Regions from separate parts of the Homo sapiens genome. Here region 2 is linked to region 1. The links are contacts of gene promoters, found by promoter capture Hi-C in blood cells and fetal thymus (Javierre and others, 2016). All regions are on one chromosome and are shown on one strand. Each heading gives the region's core, a stretch centred on a gene start or on the middle of the fragment in contact. The rest is flanking DNA. Distances are from core to core; before and after follow the strand shown. Region 1 holds the start of ZNF630 (zinc finger protein 630). Region 2 holds the start of OTUD5 (OTU deubiquitinase 5).

Region 1 (5,140 bases), core at 1,480-3,979:
TGAGCCGAGATTGCGCCACTGCACTCCAGCCTGGGCGACAGAGTGAGACTCTGTCTAAAAAAAAAAAAGAAAAGTAAAAAAATTAGCTGGGCGTGGTGGCATGTGCCTGTAGTCCTAGCTACTCCAGAGGCGGAGGTGAGAGGATCGCTTGAGCCCCGAAGTTAAAGGTTACAGTGTCTGATCACACCACAGCACTCCAGCCTGGGTGACAGAGCAAGATCCTGTCTGTCTGTCTCTCTCTCTCTCTCTCTCTCTCTCTCTCTCCATATATATATAAAACAGGGAAGGAGAAGGGTTTGAGTTAGAAAAGGAGACGTGATGATGGAAGCAGGTTACCGTCAGAGAGCAATGTGAAGATGCTACACTGTCAGCTTTGAAGATGGAGGAAGGGACCATGAGTCAAGGAATACAGGTGACTTCTAGCAGAAGCTAGGTAAAGCAAATAAACAGAGTTTCTCCTAAGCCTCTGTAGGGAGTGCCCAGTGAAACCCATATCATATTTCTGACATGTAGGACTGTAAGATAATAAATTTGTGTTGTTTTGAGCAAGTAAGTCTGTGATAATTTGCTATAGCAACAACAGGAAATGAATACAGGCATCTTTGAAATATTCCATCATTGATGGCCCGTCTGGTCTATACTCAAACCATGTCCTTCTTAACTCTTCCACCATCCCTATCCCTCTGACCTCACCTCAAACCCCAGCTGTTGTTAGCAATTCCACCATCAAAGTCTCTTATCTGTGCTCTCCAACCTGGGCTTCTATTAACTCTTCCAACCTAAATCAACCCTTAATTTTACCTTGAACTGGGGAATCTGTTATCCATTCCACTATTAATGGGTTTGGATCTAGAGAGAGAATTCAGGGCTTTGAGGGTGGAAAATTAATAATCCTGGGTCTATGTGTTAAGCTTGAGTTTCTGTTCACTTTTCCATCACCAGGGCAATTTACATGTGAATCTTTTTGCATGTCTGTTAACTCTTTCCCCATTACTGCCCCTCAGTTCTTGCTCACTGCAACCTCCACCTCCCAGGTTCTAGTGATTCTCATGCTTCGGCCACCCAAGCAGCTGGAATTACAGGCATGCACCACCACGTCTGGGTAATTTTCGTATTTTTAGTAGAGACAGGTTTTCGCCAAGTTGGCTATGCTGAGTCCTGGCTTCAAGTGATCTGCCTGCCTCCACCTCCCAAAATGCTGGGATTATAGGAGTGAGCCACTACGCTCTGCATCCCTCAGATCTTTACACTGACTGCAGGCCTCAGTTGAGTCCTCTCCATCTATGATCCTTTGGTATGTACAGAAAATCAAGGCTGTACTAACTTTTTAGCTACTTGTGCCCCTTCTCCTGTATCCACCAACCCCAATCCTCAGTTAACATTTATTTTTATAGAGATGGAGTCTCACTATGTTGCCCAGACTGGTCTTGATCTCCTGGGCTCACATGATCCTCCCGCCTCAGCCTCCCAAAGTCCTGGGATTACAGGTGTCAGCCACTGTGCCCGGCCCTCAGTTAACATTTTTTTCTTATTTTTATTTTTTGAGACAGAGTTTTGTCTCTCCCCCAGGTTGGAGTGCAGTGTCACAGTCTTGGCCCACTGCAACCTCCACCTCCCAGGTTCAAGCGATTCTCATGCCTCAGCCTCCCAAGCAGCTGAGACTACAGGCATGTGCCACCACATCTGGCTAAATTTTGTATTTTTAGTAGAGATAGGGTTTTGCCATGTTGGCCAGGCTGGTCTCTAACTCCTGGCCTCAAGTGATCCTCCCGCCTTGGCCTCCCAAAGTTCTGAGATTGCAAGTGTTAGCCACTGTGCCCAGCCCTCAGTTAACATTTTTATCATGAATGCCATTTGGTTTGACTTTGAAGTCAGACCTTGATTAATTCTTCCACCATCATTACCCCTTTGGTATAGGCTGTGAATTCCGGGGCTCTGTTAACCACATCACGTGACTTTAATGGGTCTCTGGTCTTGGCTCAGATTTGGGTCTAAGTTAACCTTCCATTTAAGGCCTCTCTGAAATAACTTTGGAATTGGGTTACTATTGCACCACCAGTGCCCCTCTGATTTGATCTTCAAGCAGGATATTTGTTAATGTTTTCTCCATCCATACACCCTGATAGAGGTCTTGAATCCTAGGACTTTCTTAACTATTGTAACCATCAGAGTTCCCGTTTTGTATCGAACATGAACCTTTGTTAACTCTGCAATCCTGTTCCGGGCTGACTTCCAATCCAGCCCTTTGTTAAGTCGTCTAAAACCAATGTCCCTTAGGTTTTACCTCGAACCTCTGACTCTATGAACTCTTTTAGTTTTGATACGGGCTGCAAAAGGCCATATAAGCCTACTTGAACTAGGGCAGGCAGAAGTCCAGGCTGTAAATGACAGGTGAAGGTGGGCCCTTCCGTGTTCAAAGGAGCCAATGGAGGACCGGTGGGCAGTGAGTGACAGATGGGGGCGGGTCCTGACGCCAAGCAGGAACAATAGGAAGGCGGCAGGGCGCCGAGGCCAGGTGGGGAGAAGTGGGCGGGTATGTGTGAGCCCCCTGAAAGGCTGCATGATGTCAAAGGTCTCTTCCCTTTCTCCAGACGTTTTAGGAATTCGCTTCTGCGGAGGAATCTCCCGGGGGGTGCTCTGTCCAGCCTTCCCACTTTCCCCGTTTCCCACCCTGCCATGTCGCCACGCCTTTGCTCAGGCCGTGCCTCTTCTGGTGGCCGGGAACGCCCACTCACCCGGACAAGTCGCGGCCCTTCCAAGCCTCACACTGCTTTCGTAGGATCAATTCCGAATACCCAAACTCGGAGATATCACGAGGACTCCCCCGGGCCCCCAAACGCACCTCTCCTCTGGCTGGAATGGGAGCCTCCAGAAGCAGTGCGAGACCACGGCCAGCGACAGAGGTCCTGGCGCTGGCGGAATGACGCCATTTTTGTTACTGGTAGAGCTCGGCTTCGTGGCTGTTTCGGAGCCACCGAAAGATAAGCTCCCTCGTCACCCTGACATCTCTCCGGGAAGACTGGAAGGGAAATGGCCTTTCGGGGGATGTTGAACGCATTTGGGCAGGCGGGGAGCCAAGCCCGGCTTGAGAGCAGAGCCGGGGTGAGGGGCCTGGCTGAGTGCTGCGGGTCTATGTGATCAGTGACGGATGGAGACAAGTGGAGGGCCTGAGGAGGGGATTGAGTGACGTGGAGAACAGTGATAGGGGAGCCTGTGGGACCAGGGGTAACAGTATGTGGGTTATGCAAATGGGAGTTTGTGGGGTGATGGGGGATCTGTGCGGTGTTTGATGATGTCTGTAAGGGTGAGTGATGGGGCTTCTATGGGATGGGTGAAGGGAGTCTGGGGTGAGTGATGGGTGGTCTGTAGGGTGAGGGATGCTGATCCGTGGGGTGAGTGGATAGGGGGATCTGGGGTGAGGGATGAGGGTCTATGAGGACAAGAATGGGAGTGTGTGTGGGGTCAGTGTTGACATTCTGTGGGGTCCATGATGGGTGGCTTTTTCAGATCAATCATATGTGCATGAATGAACAAAAATCTCTGCTCCTGTGGTGTCCACATTCCGATGGAGAAGTCCAACTTGGTGGTTTGATTTGTATTTCCCTCATGACCAATAAGTTTGAGCACATTTTCTTATATGGATTCATCACTTGGAGATCTTCTTTTGTGAGGGGCCTGTCTTTTGTTCATTTTTCTGTTGGACTCTCTGCCCTTTTCTTAATGATTTGTAGGAATTTTTTTTTTTTTTTTTTTTTTTAGACGAAGTCTCACTCTGTCGCCCAGGCTGGAGTGCAGTGGAGAAATCATGGTTCACTGCAACCTCCACCTCCTGGGTTCTAGCAATTATCCTACCTCAGCCTCCCGAGTAGCTGGAATTACAGGCGCCTGCCACCACGCCTGGCTGATTTTTTTGTATTTGTAGTAGAGACAGGGTTTCGCCATGTTGGCCAGGCTGGTCCCGAACTCTTGACCTCAGGTGATACACCCACCTCGGCCTCCCAAAGTGCTGGGATTACAGGTGTGAGCCACCGTGCCCGGCCAGGAATTGTTTTTATATATTCTGATACCACTCCTTTAGTAGTGGTATGTGTTTTGCAAATATCTCCTTCCAGCTTTTGGCTTCTCTTTTCATTTTATGGCTTTAAATATGAAGATTTTCAGTTAATTTTGAACTGTAAAGCACATTCTTCAGTTAAAAAGCAGACAATATCGGCTGGGCGTGGTGGCTCACACCTATAATCCCAGCACTTTGGGAGGCCGAGGCGGCCGGATCACGAGGTCAGGAAATCGAGACCATCCTGGCTAACACGGTGAAACCCCGTCTCTACTAAAATTACAAAAAAATTAGCTGGGCGTGGTGGCGGGCTCCTGTAGTCCCAGCTACTGGGGAGGCTGAGGCAGGAGAATGGAGTGAACCAGGGAGGCGGAGCTTGCAGTGAGCCGAGATCGCGCCACTGCACTCCAGCCTGGGCGACAGAGCGAGACTCCATCTCAAAAACAAAAAACAAAAAACAAAAAAAAAAAAAACAGACAATGTCCTGTGGAATTTAGGAGGATAACTAATTTTTTAGGGCATCCAGAAGCAAGGGGTGTTGCCTGAAAATCTTAGTGCTAGGACAGCTTGGGAGGAGTTCTTTACTTTTTGTTCCTCTACCACCTCGCTCTAAATCACTGGCAGTGTGATCTTAGACAACTCATGAAACCTCTCTAGGCATCAGTTTCCCACTGCGAAATGAGGATAATAGCAGGGCCTACCCTGTGAGGCTTGGGATGAGAAGTGAGTTAATACCTGAATGTTACCTATTCGCCATAGTTTTGCAGCACTAATTTTGTATATATTTCATGGATCTTCCTTGAACTCAAGGTTACTGCTGCTCATGTAATACCAAAATCTGGTGAAGGAAATTAAATACCAAGGAATAAGGTTTTGTCAGCTATGGTTGCTTTGGAGGGTCACAACCCATTGTAATATCTAAGAAGCTTTTTTTTGTTTTTGTTTTGTTTTGTTTTGTTTTGCCTCCAAGAACTAATTTTTGTCCCCTTGGGGGCAGTATCACCCCCCAGTGAGAATGTGTGATCTACATGGTATTTTTTTTTTGTTTTCTTTTCTTTTCCTTTTTTTTTTTCTTTGACAGGGTCT
Region 2 (5,678 bases), core at 3,174-5,673, 890 kb before region 1:
ACCTGCCATCCCCAGGCCTTGCCTGAGGGGTCAGGCTGCCTCTCCCAACACACACTCAGATAGCACAAATTCTACCATCCCCTTCCCTGGCTGCTGGAAATGGACCCCGCAACCCTGTCCTCTGCTGGGCCCCCAGCAAACTCTAGCAATAGCAGCTGCTGCCGTGTCATTATGCAAAGCCTCTGACCAGTTTGCTGCAGCATTTACATCTGCCCTAATCAGAGGGGCCACCTCTAACTCCTCCTCCTCCTCTCTTCTCCTCTGGTTTGCGTCCTTCCTGGGTTGGGCTGGAGTCTGGACTGGCTGAGATAAGAGCCTGGCAACCAGCAAGAGCTGGGCTGTATTTGGAGATCATGGGCTGATTCCATGTTCTTGGGCAACAGTCCAGAAGCATCAGGGGCTCCGGCCTGGGATGTTTCTGAACTTTGGGAGTTATAGGAGACAGGAGGAACTTCTCCTCCTCCTCCTCCCCTACAATTCCTTTTCACATATTCCTTTCTTCTCCCTCTTGGGTGACCTTCCAAAACTCTGCTCTCAGGCTGAAATCTGGCATCATCTCAGGTTCCCTGTCCCCAGCACTGTCCCCATGGAGCTGGTGGCTGACAAAGATGTAGTTTCCATCAGTCAATAAAACCTGAGAGGAGAGATGAGGACTGAGAGTATCTCCTGGCTCTGTGGGTTTGGGGGCTGGGTTGGGCTTGGGGGTTGAAAACACTCTGATTTCAATCCCTTTTGGCTAGGAGAAGGGCTGGTATGGGTCAAGGTATGGGAGATGGATGGTTGGTGATGTATTCTGGAAGATGGGGATCCAGGAGAAATGAAAGAGTGTGGTTTGAGGAGTTCATCTACAGCCAGTGAGACAGGCCAGGGGGTCCTGAGACATTCCTCCTTGGATATCATCTGCGCCAGCTTCCTGATTCACAGATCGGGAAACTGAGACCCAGAGAAACACATAGTTAGTTAGAGGAGGCTTAAACCCAGGCTTCCTGACAGCAAACAACCCTGAATTTAACCCTAATAAAAGCATCACTTTGTTTGGTGAATTTCCCTTCCTTGTGGACGCCCCCTACATTCTCTCTTCTGGGCTACTGGCTACACTAGGCTAGTGTGTGGCTGAGTTCTATAGAGCACTGAGCAGACAGACCATGGATTCAGGTTGATCTGGGTTCCAATCCCTGGGTGAGAGAATCACTTACCTTCTCTTGCCTCAGGTTGCTAGTCTGTGAAATAGGGATAATTCATTTAGTCACCAAATATTTATTAACTTCCATCATGTGCCAGCCCTAGGGATACAAAGGTGGGCAAAGTAGACATTGTCTCTGATGTATAGTTGAGCATGGAAGGCAGACAAGTAATTACAACATGGTGTGGCAGAACTAAGATCCATGTGTTATAGAGGCATGCAGATGGCAGGAGAACTTAACCTGGCCAACACACAGGGAATGAGTTGGAGTTAGCCAGGCAGCAAATGAAAGGATGCAATGTTCTGGGCAGAGGGAACAGCATGTGCAATGACCTGGAGGTTGGAGAGTGAGCTCAGGCCTTTGGGGAACTGAAAGTAGTTCAGTCCAGCTGGGGAGGAGAGTGTGAGGCTGTGAGGAGAGGAAGGATGGAGAGGTAGGCTAGATAATAAAAAGCTTTGAAGCTATGACGCGAATTTTAAACTTCATCCTAAAGATAGTGGGGACCTCTAAAGACTTAAACAGAAAACTCATGATGAAGTTTGTGTTTCAGAATGATCATTCTGGCTGTGGAGAGTGGATATAGAGAAACAGTCCTGGAAGGAAGAAAAGTAGGGTGGAGGCTTTTATAATAGTCCAGGTGGTAGGGGACAGTGGCTTGGACCAGAGTAGTGGCAGTAGAATTGGAGAGTCTAGAGATTTGGGAGGCAGAATTGGCAGGACTTGGGATTGACAGGCATGTGGGAGTTGAGGAAGAGGGAGCAGTCAAAGTTGACTCCCAGTTTCTGGCTTGGACGACGGCTGGATGGGAGTGCTATTCCCTGGTAAAGGGAACATCAGAGCTGTCAGCACTCAGTGCTAGGTACATAGTAAGTACTTGGTGAAGGGTAGCCATGATTGCTATCATGAGTTCAGTTTTAGATGTGTAGTGAGTGAAATATATGGGGCTGGAGTGAGATGATCATGAGAAGATTCAATGTGATAATGTGCATAGGCATTTGGCACAGAGCCCTGAACACAACAGGCCCGGTAAACGTGAAAGTCCCCTCCTATTAAGTCTCATGAGCAGAAAACACTACTTAGAGCCCATTTATTACTTACACCTTTCAGGGAAGAATTTCAACTAGGGTTAGTATCTCAAGGGAGGCAAGGCTATACTCAAAACAGCTTTCCCATGGTCTCTTTCAGTCAACCTGTTGTATGGTTTGTCTCCTAAGACTGGAAGTGAACTCCAAATACCTTCTTGGTTCATCAGCTCATCTGAACCCCATAACCATTCCCTGAGGTAGTCTGGGCAGGTATTATCATTCCTGTTTTACACATGGGTAATCTCAAAAGTGACACAATGACTTGCTCAAGGTCATACAGTTGGTAATGGTCCATCTGTGCCTGGAACTGAGGTCTTTCTGGCTCCAAAGCCTGGGATCCTTCCACTGCACCACCATGCAGACTACTTTATTGAACACTTCCTATGTGCTGGGCACAGCACCAGGCCCTTCACAAGCATTAATCTCTGATCCTCGGATTAGAATTATTGCCAATTTATAGAATAGAAATTAAGGATGGGTGCTCACTTCGCACCACATATACTAAAATTAGAACGATACAGAGATTAGCATGGCACTATGCGAAAGGATGACACGCAAATACGTGAAGCGTTCTATAAAAAAGTAAACAACAACAACAAAAATTGAGGACGGGGTGGGTTTTAAATGACTGACAAAGATCACTCAGACAGGAAGGGCAGAGCTAGGATTAGCGTGTAGCTCTCCAGCTACTCAATAGCAGGGATTCTGCCAACCCCATTTTGAGACGCTGACTGGTGACAGAGCTTTCATAAACCTCGATCGACCCAAGCAAACTCAGTTTTAGAAAAAGGCTGGGCTTGGCCAGGCGCGGTGACTAACGCCTGTAATCCCAGCACTCTGGGAAGCCGAGGCGGGAGGATCGCTTGAGCCCGGGAGCTGGAGATCAGCCTGGGCAACATAGTGAGACTTTGTCCCTACAAAAAAGTGAAAAAAAAATTAGCCGGTCGTAGTGGTGCGCGCCTGTGGTCCCAGCTATTCGGGAGGCTGAGGCGGGAGGATCGCTTGAACCTGGGAGTTGGAGTTTGCAGTGAGCTATGATCGCGCCACTGCATTCCAACCTGGGCGACAGAGTGAGACCCCTGTCTCAATTAGGAAAAAAAAAAAAAAAAAAAAAAAAAAAGGCTGGGCCGCGCCTGCGCACTAGCCATAGGGGCGGGGAGGTCAACGCGAGGCCGAGAGTGCTGTGGTGCCAGAGAAGGCGTGTCTGTTTCCCAAACAACCACTGTCCCCACGGCGCCTGTCTGTCCCAAGGTTGGTCGGTATGCCGCGAGTGACGGCGTCTCTTAACCAATCACCGCAGAACTCAGGCTGTTGCCGGGGCGAAGCGGTGTCCGCCTCCCCCGGAAGGGTATTTGTAGGTGGGTGGGACCGGAAGTGACGCTACAGGGGCCAGCTATGCTCCCGGGAGTGTTGATGTTTTCCAGTCATTCCGGCTGACAGCGTTCAAGTTGGAATCCTGGAGGGGAGGTGTTTTTCCTGTCGTACGTGGGACAGGCCACGCTGTCCGTCCGCAGTACCGACGCCTGCAGGTCAGAGCTTCGGGGAGAAAAGTGAAGAGCAAGACGGAACTGACGGGGAGAAAGGCTGGGAACCAGGGTGTCGACTTTGACTGAAATTTGAGACGGAGGGCACCGGAGGGCGAGCACTCGCCTGTGATTGGCCCGTGGGCGTCGTCGAGGTCCCACGCAGCTGCTCAATTGGTTGGTGTTGCAATTGTTGTGGCGGCGGCGGCGGCGATTTTGCCCACGTACTTCCGAGTAAGGGGCGGGGCTGTGCCCTGGCGCGCGTGCGCAGCGCCCCGGGGCCCCACCCGGTAGTGCAAGAACCTGCGAGGGGGCGGAGCGAAGAGGTGCTTGTTTTGGTTCTGTTTCCTTTGAAGCAGAAGGCCGGAACAAGCGTAGCAATAAACTTGCTGGACTTGGAGAGAAGGCTAAGACAAACTCGCCGCACTGCCTTCATCTTGGACTTTACATCCGGGTTCTCCTCTCGGCGTGACCCGCGCGCCGCCACCGCCGCCGCCGCCGCCGCCGCCTCCTCCGCCGCCGAGGGTTCTCGAACCGGTGCCGCGATCCCTTTATCCGGGTCTCGCCGTTCCCGTCGTGCCTCGCGCACTACACTAGCCCCCTCATCCGGGTTCTCTCCCGGCGTGCCCCGCGCCGGGTTTGTTGGGGGGTACTCGGCAGTGCAGCCATGACTATACTCCCCAAAAAGAAGCCGCCGCCTCCCGACGCCGACCCCGCCAACGAGCCGCCGCCGCCCGGGCCGATGCCCCCGGCGCCGCGGCGCGGCGGAGGTGTGGGCGTGGGCGGCGGCGGCACGGGCGTGGGCGGCGGCGATCGCGACCGTGACTCCGGCGTCGTGGGGGCCCGTCCGCGAGCTTCGCCACCGCCTCAAGGCCCGCTACCAGGACCGCCGGGCGCTCTTCATCGCTGGGCGCTGGCCGTGCCGCCTGGTGCAGTGGCGGGTCCCCGGCCACAACAGGCTTCTCCACCTCCTTGCGGGGGCCCAGGTGGTCCCGGCGGCGGTCCCGGCGACGCGCTGGGCGCAGCGGCGGCGGGTGTGGGTGCCGCGGGCGTGGTGGTGGGTGTGGGTGGTGCCGTAGGCGTGGGCGGCTGCTGCTCCGGGCCTGGGCACAGCAAGCGGCGACGTCAAGCTCCCGGGGTTGGCGCGGTTGGCGGGGGCAGTCCCGAGCGTGAGGAGGTCGGCGCAGGCTACAACAGTGAGGACGAGTATGAGGCGGCTGCAGCACGCATCGAGGCTATGGACCCTGCCACTGTCGAGCAGGTAAGAGCTGTGGGGTGAGGGGTGAGCGGCCACGGCAGATGGGACCCCCAGACTGTGAAGGGACTCAAGGAAGGCTGTTTGAGATCGCCCCAAGGGATCTAGGCGTTTTCACTGGGCCTGACAGTCTTCTCTGGCGGTAGGGATGTGAGACACCTTCTTTCCTCCCCTCCAGGATTTTGGGGCTAGAGGCCTACGGTAAGGTGTCAGACTTAAAGATCCGAGGTCTCTTTTAAGGTCTATAGTCGTCATTCCAGTCCCTGGGACCTCATCATATAGGGCCAATAGGTGGGAATTCTCCAAGAGATACAGGTAGGATCGCGCCCCTCTTGAGTAGGAGTCTCAGGTCTCCCAAGAGACTTAGGTATGTGTTCAGTGGCTTAAGAGCTCTTTTCCTCTGGGATAGAAGTTTGAGATTCCCCTTCCAGGAAAGTCAAATAAGGTGGAGACCTCGGAGATCGGGGCTGAACATCCCCAAGGAGCCTAAGCCCTTTCAAGAGTCTGAGACACTCTGCATATAGGACAATCCTCTCCCGCTTCGCTGGGTAACACTGCACAGGACCACTGAATAGCCAGACCTGAGACCTCAAGGGTCCTAAGTCTGTCTTCAGGGGCCTGAGAGTCCTGC

The links. The method cuts DNA at HindIII sites, captures the fragments that hold promoters and counts their contacts. A CHiCAGO score of 5 or more calls a contact.
Region 2: the fragment with the promoter of OTUD5 here is called in contact with the fragment with the promoter of ZNF630 in region 1 in 1 of 17 cell types (naive B cells); the score reaches 5.8 in naive B cells.

What each region holds. Positions count from the first base shown.
Region 1 is chrX:48,069,229-48,074,368 of GRCh38, reverse strand. ZNF630 (zinc finger protein 630) reads left to right here and starts at 2,729. Exons shown (of 5, transcript NM_001282201.2): 1 at 2,729-3,102. RefSeq lists a silencer at 2,391-2,587 and an enhancer at 2,499-2,758. The HindIII fragment of the contact is 4,069 bases long and covers 914-4,982 here.
Region 2 is chrX:48,956,352-48,962,029 of GRCh38, reverse strand. It overlaps OTUD5 (OTU deubiquitinase 5), which reads left to right and starts at 4,423. Exons shown (of 9, transcript NM_001136157.2): 1 at 4,423-5,053. The coding sequence starts at 4,460. It overlaps KCND1 (potassium voltage-gated channel subfamily D member 1), which reads left to right. Exons shown (of 6, transcript NM_004979.6): 6 at 1-650. It also overlaps the pseudogene RNU6-722P. RefSeq lists enhancers at 50-199, 3,677-3,866 and silencers at 148-442, 3,967-4,126, 4,327-4,376, 4,747-4,806. The HindIII fragment of the contact is 4,109 bases long and covers 1,640-5,678 here.